Linked DNA regions of Homo sapiens: all the other regions are linked to region 2. The links are contacts of gene promoters, found by promoter capture Hi-C in human tissues and cell types (Jung and others, 2019). All regions are on one chromosome and are shown on one strand. The core of a region is centred on a gene start or on the middle of the fragment in contact, and the rest is flanking DNA. Distances in the headings are between cores, read along the strand shown.

What was found. Contacts are between HindIII fragments. The study calls those that stand out against the background at their distance.
Region 1: a contact is called between a fragment that was not itself captured here and the fragment with the promoter of OSCP1 in region 2, in 1 of the 25 tissues and cell types used here (hippocampus).
Region 3: a contact is called between a fragment that was not itself captured here and the fragment with the promoter of OSCP1 in region 2, in 1 of the 25 tissues and cell types used here (hippocampus).

What each region holds. Positions count from the first base shown.
Region 1 is chr1:37,812,348-37,815,332 of GRCh38, reverse strand. MTF1 (metal regulatory transcription factor 1) reads left to right here. Exons shown (of 11, transcript NM_005955.3): 11 at 1-2,985. The coding sequence ends at 197. Among named protein-coding and RNA genes, the nearest start is that of YRDC, 5.6 kb to the right of the region's middle. The HindIII fragment of the contact is 4,615 bases long and covers 1-2,985 here.
Region 2 is chr1:36,449,071-36,451,825 of GRCh38, reverse strand. OSCP1 (organic solute carrier partner 1) reads left to right here and starts at 1,375. Exons shown (of 10, transcript NM_145047.5): 1 at 1,375-1,568. The coding sequence starts at 1,457. It overlaps LOC107984940 (a long non-coding RNA gene), which reads right to left. Exons shown (of 3, transcript XR_001737976.2): 3 at 2,261-2,368. RefSeq lists a silencer at 980-1,249. The HindIII fragment of the contact is 9,579 bases long and covers 1-2,755 here.
Region 3 is chr1:37,491,763-37,494,727 of GRCh38, reverse strand. It overlaps MEAF6 (MYST/Esa1 associated factor 6), which reads left to right. Exons shown (of 7, transcript NM_001270875.3): 7 at 621-2,965. The coding sequence ends at 629. Among named protein-coding and RNA genes, the nearest start is that of MIR5581, 7.7 kb to the left of the region's middle. The HindIII fragment of the contact is 5,415 bases long and covers 1-2,965 here.

The DNA of each region.
Region 1 (2,985 bases), core at 201-2,700, 1.4 Mb before region 2:
CTACCTTGCCCTCCTCCTGTGAGCAAAGCCGACAAGCAGAGACTCCTTCAGACCCTCAGACAGAAACATTAAGTGCCATGGATGTGTCAGAGTTTCTATCCCTCCAGAGCCTGGACACCCCGTCCAATCTGATTCCCATTGAAGCACTACTGCAGGGGGAGGAGGAGATGGGCCTCACCAGCAGCTTCTCCAAGTGAAGGGCCCATGTGTGCTCACCTCTGGGAAAAGCGGGTGAGCAGGAGGCATGAGGTACAATGCCTGCCATCATGGGTCAGAAATTTGAAGGATGAAGAAATCTACTGTTTGAAATCCTCACCTTTCAGACGTATTTTCTTTATTCACATCCCAGGAGCATCCATTTTAAGGAACTATTCTTTGGAAAAAAACAAAAAACAAAAAAAACAACAAAAAAAGCTAAGTTATAAGTGAACTGTTTGGCTGCACTGTATGTCACTTTTGCTTGTTGTCATGTGAACTTGGAAACTAAGGTTACTCGTGTGCATAAAAATTCTAAATGAAAGGGTGTGGTTTCCATCAATCTGATGCTGCCCATCGCTTGCACTGGGGTCTTTGTGGATCGGGCAGGAGTTTTCAGTGTGTTGGGTGTTGCTCCTTCCTATGTGTCTTTTGAATCTGAGGCTGACATTTGCTTGGAAGGCCAGACCCTTGCTCCATCAGAGAGGGCAGTGGCAAAGGCCAGTGAGGCAGCTGTGAGTTGGACAGGGTTCAGGTGAGATGGTGTTGTCATTTGTGCTTAGTGTTGGTGGTGCTCAGGGTGGATAACACGGGTCGTTCTGCAGCCCGCTTCAGCACAAATAGGCAGCTTAAGGCCTGGCTCACAGGCTGTGGGGTTGATCTGGCTCTGCAGAGGCCCTAGGCAGCTTGTTGACTGCTGTCTGTTGATGACGTGTGTGCAAAGCAGGCTCTAGCAACATGATCACTGTCCTTGCCTTCCTGGTTCTTTCTCTCGGTTGGTTGCCAGGGCTTGCAGATCGCAGTGAATTTTCCTTGGGGAACATCGCTGTTTTGTCCTAGAGTGAACTTGTGGCTTATGGCCAGTGCTGTTTGGTGGTCTGCCTTCTTTTTAATGGTATTTTCTTCCTCAGAGCAGAAGGGCTGCATTTTGCTTATCAGAAGAAGGTGCAGATTTAAGGGAATTCATATGAGGTGGCATGTAATTGGCAGGCCAGGTGTCCTGGTTCCAGGTTCCAGCCAGGCTTTGGGTTGCCCCCTCCATCTCTGCCCCCCTCTGGATTTTGCATACAGCCTCATACAGTGCAAACAAGGATGTGACTTGCTCAGCTTAGTCATGTGATTTATTTAAAAAAAAAAAAAAAAGAAACACAAAACGATGATCTTCTACTCAGGGTATAGCAAAACAAAAAAATTCCCTTTCCACCAAAAAGCCTGAAATGTTGCAATAAGTTATCTCATTTGGAATGTTTCATTAAGTTGTGTTATAGGAAAAAATTGTGTGTGTGTGTTATAGAATTATATCCATATGTCTGCCTTTGGCTCCAAGTCATTGCCTCTTAAAATAAAAGATACAATCCATACTAGCATGAAAAGTTTCCCTCAACAGGCTATATTAACATAGTCATGAGTGCTGACCAAACTCACCGAGCTCAGAGGCCAGGCATGGCCTGAGGTGCAGAATAGGCCTCTGCCTCCCAAGAGCCCTTTCCTTGCCCTGAGCAAGGAGTGGTGTTCCACAAACAAGGCTGCTCTTCTAAGCCAACAGTGTCAGGCAGGAAGCAGCCATAATTTTGCCTTGCATTTTCATTCCCTAATGTAAAGGGATCTGCATTGGTCACTCTCCTGTTCTCTGAGCCATTGCTCAGGGCCAGCCAAGATATTATTGAGAACAGATAATTTACCTTGGAGCCAGAGGCCCTCCCTGCCTTTAGCAAGGATGTTCAGGGACAGACAAAGAGGGCAGTGGTGGTGAATGTTGTTACTGCCATGAGGAGAAATGGCAGTAAGAAATCTTAACTACAAGCAGCCAATTTCTCATTCCAGGACCCTAGCCAGAATAATTGACTTCTTTTTTTTTTTGAGACAGAGTTTTGCTTTTGTTGCCCTGGCTGGAGTGCAGTGGCGCAATCTTGGCTCACCGCAACCTCCACTTCCCAGGTTCAAGCAATTCTGCCTCAGCCTCCCGAGTAGCTGGGATTACAGGCATGCGCCACCACGCCTGGCTAATTTTGTATTTTTAGTAGAGACGGGGTTTCTCCATGTTGGTCAGGCTGGTCTCGAACTCCCAACGTCAGGTGATCCTCCCGCCTCAGTCTCCCAAAGTGCTGGGATTACAGGTGTGAGCCACCATGCCTGGTCTAGGGAATTGACTTCTTTTTGACCTTCTGCACTCCCTTCCCCAAAAGGATTGTGGCTTCTGTTGACCATTGACCTCAGCAGAAGTTGATAAGGCAGGAGGTTTCCAGTCCTCCTGGAAAACCAACTGCTGAGCATGAGTTGTCCTTGGCTGTCTCTGGGCCTCGCACCCATGGGAAGTTTTGAGGTAGGGCCCTTGCTGTTTACAACTTCTGAGAGAGTAGTGATGGGACCCCAAAGTAAGCTTGTATCAGAGGGCAGTAATGACCTTCCCATATCCCCATCCTGTGGTCACCTGGGATTTGGGTTCCCTGGGGCGGAAGTGGGAAATAGGAGCCCAGGGAAGGACATCTGAAGCACCCACAGTTTAAATAGCGACTCTTCTTGGTTAGCCAGGGCTGTGCTCATGTTGGGCCCTACCCAGGTCAGTGGCCTTTTCACTCTCAAAGATCGGGGGTGACGAAGCAGCATCTTAAACAGTGTTTAGGCTGACAGATTTTTCCAGTTGAAGAAGCTGAAGTATCTGCCTTTTGAGGGTGACTCTAGATTACAAGAGAGACTATCAGATCCAATCAGCTTTTGAAAAATCAGGAATGTGCTTAAAATGCCAGTGAGTGGTTGTGAAGATCAGGTTTATTTCCCAGGATAGGCAGT
Region 2 (2,755 bases), core at 126-2,625:
TTAGCAGCCAGTGCAAGGTAGAAGAGAGAAAAGAACAGTGATACAGAGGAACATAGCAATGCAGACAGAAAAACAAATGAAGGGATGAATGTAAGAAAGGTGTTGGAGGAAAAAGCATAATATGATGACTGATAAAAGACCCTGGGAAACAGATTTGGAAGCCAAGGCCCAAGTTTCAAGTTTGAGTAGCTGGAGGGAAAGATAATTAGTAGGTTTTGGAAGTACTGAAATTTACAGAAATGGTTGTTCATCAGAGTAAAAATATACAGCAGATGGCAAAAAGTAATCCTGGAGCTTAAGATGGAGGTAAGGAAGGGAGTCGCTGCCCTCAAAGAGAAATGGTTGGGGCCGGGCGTGATAGCTCACGCCTGTAATCTCAGCACTTTGGGAGGCCCAGGCGGGCAGATCACCTGAGGTCAGGAGTTCCAGACCAGCCTGGCCAACATGGTGAAACCCCGTCTCTACTAAAAATACAAAAATTAGCCGGGCATGGTGGCGGGCGCCTGTAATCCCAGCTACTCGGGAGGCTGAGGCAGGAGAATCGCTTGAACCCTGAAGGCGGAAGTTGCAATGAGCCGAGATGGCGCCACTGCACTCCAGCCTGAGCGACAAGGGCAAAATCCGTCTCAAAAAAAAAAAAAAAAGAAAAAAGAAATGGTTGGGAGGCCTTCGGAACAGCGTCGAGGAGGGAACTTCCCAGAGCCCCCAGGCGCATCCTCTGGGAACTGGACACACGGGGACGGACGGGACTGGTTTGCTTCATGGAGTATGAAACCAGGAGGGGCTTCACTTCAAGTAAACTTTTGGGAGGCGATGCAAACGACTCAGGACTTCTGATCCTTCCCTCGTCTAAAAGAAAAGTCAGTTACCATTTTTATTGAGTGCTTTCGGGGCCTTTCCATGATCTGACTGATTCCTCTCAGCCGCCCTGTGATGTGAGTGCCAGCTCCATGTTACGTAAGAGGAAGCCAAGGCTCAAACCCTGCCCGAAGTCACACAGCAAGAAATCACGAGCCGTGATTCCAACCCAGGTCCGTCTGACCCGAGCCTGCTCTAATGCCGTTCTGCCTGGGCTTTCCTCTGTTATAGGAACCTGAGGCCCCGCGCCAGCGGCCGGGGTCCCAAGCGCCGGGCTGGCTGTGTCGAGACCACCCCCAGCCCTGGCCCGGCCCTCGCCCTTTCGAGGGAAACCTACTCTCAGAAGCACAGCTCCCCAGCCGCGCCCAACGCCGCGCCGGCCTCTGGCTCGGACCAATCCCCCCGGGACGGTCCACCACCCAGACCAATTAGCTCCCGTCTTCAGGGCACCTCCCACCAAACCGCCTTCTGATTGGCTCGCTCTTCCCGTCACGGCGTTGCCCCAGCAACCGGACTATTGGGACGCTGCGGCCTGGCCTTCAGGCCACTGGCTACCGAACCCCGGGGCTCTTCACCAGTCCAGCTCGTTTCCAGCACCATGTCGGTGCGGACGCTACCGCTGCTCTTCTTGAACTTGGGCGGGGAGATGCTTTACATCCTCGACCAACGGCTGCGGGCCCAGAACATCCCGGGAGACAAGGCCCGCAAAGGTGAGAGGCCCCCGGCCCGCTCAGCCAGACCCGCAGCCAGCAGCCCGGCCCTCTCATCATCGCCCTAACACCCACAGCCAGACCCGCACCCCTACACACTTCACTCTTATAACCAGGGACCTTTCTTACAAGCCACATCCATTTGGAGCCCCTCGGGAGTCAAATCCCCCCAAAAGCTTTTTTCACAGCAGAGGAACTTAATACTCCCAGTGGACACTAGGGTGCCTGACCTCCCTAATTTCCCCATCTCTTCAAATGGGAGAGGTGATTTCCCAGTCTCTCTTGTCAATCAGTGCCTTCCAAATGTAGGAGTCCCAGCTGCCCACCATCTAGTATCATACCCCTTGCTAGTCCAAGCATCCTCTTTACCCCCAAGGAACAGGTTCTGATTTTTTTTTTTTTTTTTTTTTTTTTTTTTTTTTGAGACAGGGTCTCGCTCTGTCGCCCAGGCTGGAGTGTGTGGCACGATCTCGGCTCACTGCAACCTCTGCCTCCTGGGTTCCAGCGATTCTCGTGCCTCAGCCTCCCAAGTAGCTGGGATTACAGGCATGCACCACCACACCCAGCTAATTTTTGTATTTTTAGTAGAGATGGGGTTTCACCATGTTTCCCAGGCTGGTCTTCAATTCCTGGACTCAAACGATCTGCCCCCCTCGGCCTCCCAAAGTGCTGGGATTATAGGCGTGAGCCACCGCGTCCAGCCCAGGTTCAGATTCTTAATTTCTTTATGGTAGTATCTTCCCACATAAGCTGGAGATTGGTCTTACTCATCTCAGAAGTATTTCTAGAAATTTGGTGTTCTAAAATAATATAGATAAATATGAAAAAAATAAGAAAGTTATAAATCTCCTCACAAGTGTTGGAGGGGAATACAATTGTGAAAATAATTATATGAGAGCTTCGAAAATGCAAAATCTGCCTCCCATGGACACCACACTAATCCCCAGAAAAATGACGACTCAGAACACTCTGCCACTCTGTTCCTTTTCCTCTTTTCCTCCCTTCTCGGCAAACAACTTGCTTATACCAAATTTCCTAGGATTAAGTATGAAGGAAATATTATATTTCAAAGTGGAGGAGGAAAAGTTGAAAAGGCAATTGACATGGCCGCCAATTAAAACATTCTCTCCATTAATCTTTGTATGCTCAATTGATGTTCAACATACATATTCAGATGCTAAGCATAC
Region 3 (2,965 bases), core at 53-2,552, 1.0 Mb before region 2:
TCCTGGGTAGCTGAGACCACAGGCATGAGCCACCACACCTGGCTAATTTTTGTGTTTTTTGTAGAGACATGGTCTTAATTTGTTACCCAGGCTGGTCTCGAGCTCCTGACCTCAAGTGATCTGCCCGCCTGGGCCTCCCTAAGTGCTGGGATTATAGGCCTGAGCCACCACGCCTGGCCTGAAATACAATCTTTTTTTTTTTTTTTTTTTTTGAAACAGAGTTTCACTCTTGTCACCCAGGCTGGAGTGCAATGGCGCGATCTTGGCTCACTGCAACCTCCGCCTTCCAGGTTCAAGCGATTCTCCCACCTCAGCCTCCTGAGTAGCTGGAATTACAGGTGCCCACCACCATGTCTGGCCAATGTTTTGTATTTTTAGTAGAGACGGGGTTTCACTATGCTGGCCAGGCTGGTCTCGAACTCCTGACCTCGTGATCTCCCTGCCTCGGCTTCCCAAAGTGCTGGGATTACAGGTGTGAGCCACTGTGCCTGGCCTGAAATATAATCTTTAGCTATAGAGCAGTCCCCTAGTAGAGTTGTTTATGAGATTTTTTTTTTCCTTTAGGGTCAAACAACTGTTCTGCCGAGAGTAAGTTGGGACTTTTGTTTTTCTTTCTTTAGGACTATTAGAAGACACATTAGTGCAGAAGCTTCCAGGCTGTAGAGCCCTGCTTCCCTTCTCTGACCTCACAAAGATAAACATCCTTCACCTGAGTTCGTGGCCATCCACCTCTGCTCTCCCAGACCCAGTGCCTGTGACTTTGAGTAGTTTGTTCTAAATGTGGTGACAAACAAGTCATTTCTGTAAGACATTGGGTCTTACTTTATGTCATTTTTAGTAACAGAACTGCAGGAAGATGAAGACAATGTTGTAATCCCAGCAAGTTGCTAACTGTGCGTTTCTCCCTTCTTAGAATGAATGTCTCCCCCAAAACTGGCTGGCACCAGCTTCATCTGTGATACCCTTCAAGAAATGTTCTCTGGTTTTGTTTTATGCTGAAAGTAGAACACAAGTCACATTTCAGATGGAGGCTGTAAATATCTGGCATTTTCTTATATTGTTTTATGTTTTCTTGTTTTTCTCTTGTTGTTTTTATCTTATTTTCTTTGGGGTTTTTTTGTAATGCCTTTGTACAGCTCATACTTTCCTGCTGACATATCTGATCATCTCTTTCATGCAGTTGCCAATATTCATAACTGAAAATAATCTGGTTTATCATAAGTAAAATGGGAAACTTGCCTCTGTTTTTTGCAAGGGGAGGTAAAGAGTGTTTAGTAATTACCTATCTTAAATCTTTCTGAGTTGGTAGTAGATTCATGTTCAAGGAACAGGAAAAATGGAAAAACATAAGTTTAAATCAGTTCTTTTTAAATAACTTTTTATTCTTTTGTATAAATAAAATTTCACAGGCTTCAAATTCTCATGCTTTACTTTTAAACCCGAGATTGTTTTTTCACTTATTTATTCATATCATGCCTTATGGAAATTTCTTTTTCTGTATTTTCTCTCTTTGCTGGTATTCACCTGATTAAATATTGCTCTAAAAATCACCATGGCATATGGAAAGTCTCAAAATTATACCAAAAGTGATAACTTATGTCGTTCTTAAGTGGAGTGAAAGGATAGCATCAGTGAGAGCCAGTGTTGCCCACCAGGTCTCCCTTTCTTGGAGGGCTTGTTGGGGCTGAGGAATCTGCTAGTAATCGTTACCTGCCTCTAGTGCTGTGGTGAACTTGCGACAGGGTCTGGCTGCACATTGGAATCACCTGAGAAGCTTTAAAATACTCATGCCTGGATCCCATCCCTAGAGACTGGGGTACAGCCTAGTTATTGGGAATTTCTTTAAAAGAGTTCCTGGGATTCTGATAAGAAGCCAGGTTGAGAACCACTACATTAGAAGACTGAATGGTTTAATTTACATCCTATGTTATGATTGGTCTAAGGGATAAGATTTGGGGTCTAACCTTTCCTTTCACTCTAGTTAGTCATAGTCCTTGACTTATGCCTATATCTTTGTAAGAAATAGTATGTTTCATTTGTGATAGTATTGGTAGGGCTGAATATGGATGGCATCTACTGTAAAACAAGTCTACCTTGTCAGATGTGCAAAAGCTTTCACTCTTGTTCTCAAATAAACTTTTGTGGGTTTTTTTTTTTTTTTTTTTTTGACTCTGGCTATTTAGATCTTTGACTGTGTCTTTGGTAGCAGAACTCCAGTGTCAGGATTTTTAAGGAAATAGTTTCTTATATTTAGATTATTCCTTAAAAAAAAAAATCCTAGAAGCATTCTGTATTTTTTGTCTGTTGGTCTCCTTTGCTGGGAGGGAGGAGTGGGATGCCTACAGTTTCCTTCCTTTTGGGGAAAGCACACAGCAGACCTTAAAATATTTTTGACTCTTGGGCTGGGTGCGGTGGCTCACACCTGTAATCCCAGCACTTTGGGAGGCCGAAGCGGGCGGATCACGAGGTCAGGAGATCGAGACCATCCTGGCGAACACAGTGAAACCCCATCTCTACTAAAAATGCAAAAAATTAGCTGAGCGTGGTGGCGGGTGCCGGTAGTCCCAGCTACTCGGGAGGCTGAGGCAGGAGAATGGCATGAACCTGGGAGGCGGAGCTTACAGTGAGCTGAGATAGTGCCACTGCACTCCAGCCTGGGCGACAGAGCGAGACTCCATCTCAAAAAAAAAAAATATTTTTGACTCTTAACAGTTTGAGATTGCTAGAGATGGAATAGTACTGCTCTGTTGCGCCACTGCACTCCAGCAGCCTGGGCGACAGAGCGAGACTCTGTCAAAAAAAAAAAAAAAAAGAAAGAATAGTACTGCTCTTAAAAAGATTATTTACGTATTTATGAAACTGCAGTGGGATGCCTAGTTTCCTTCCCTCTGAGGAAAGCACACAGCAGACCTTAAAATATTTTTGACTCTCATAGTTTGACATTGCTGGAGACAGAATAGTACTG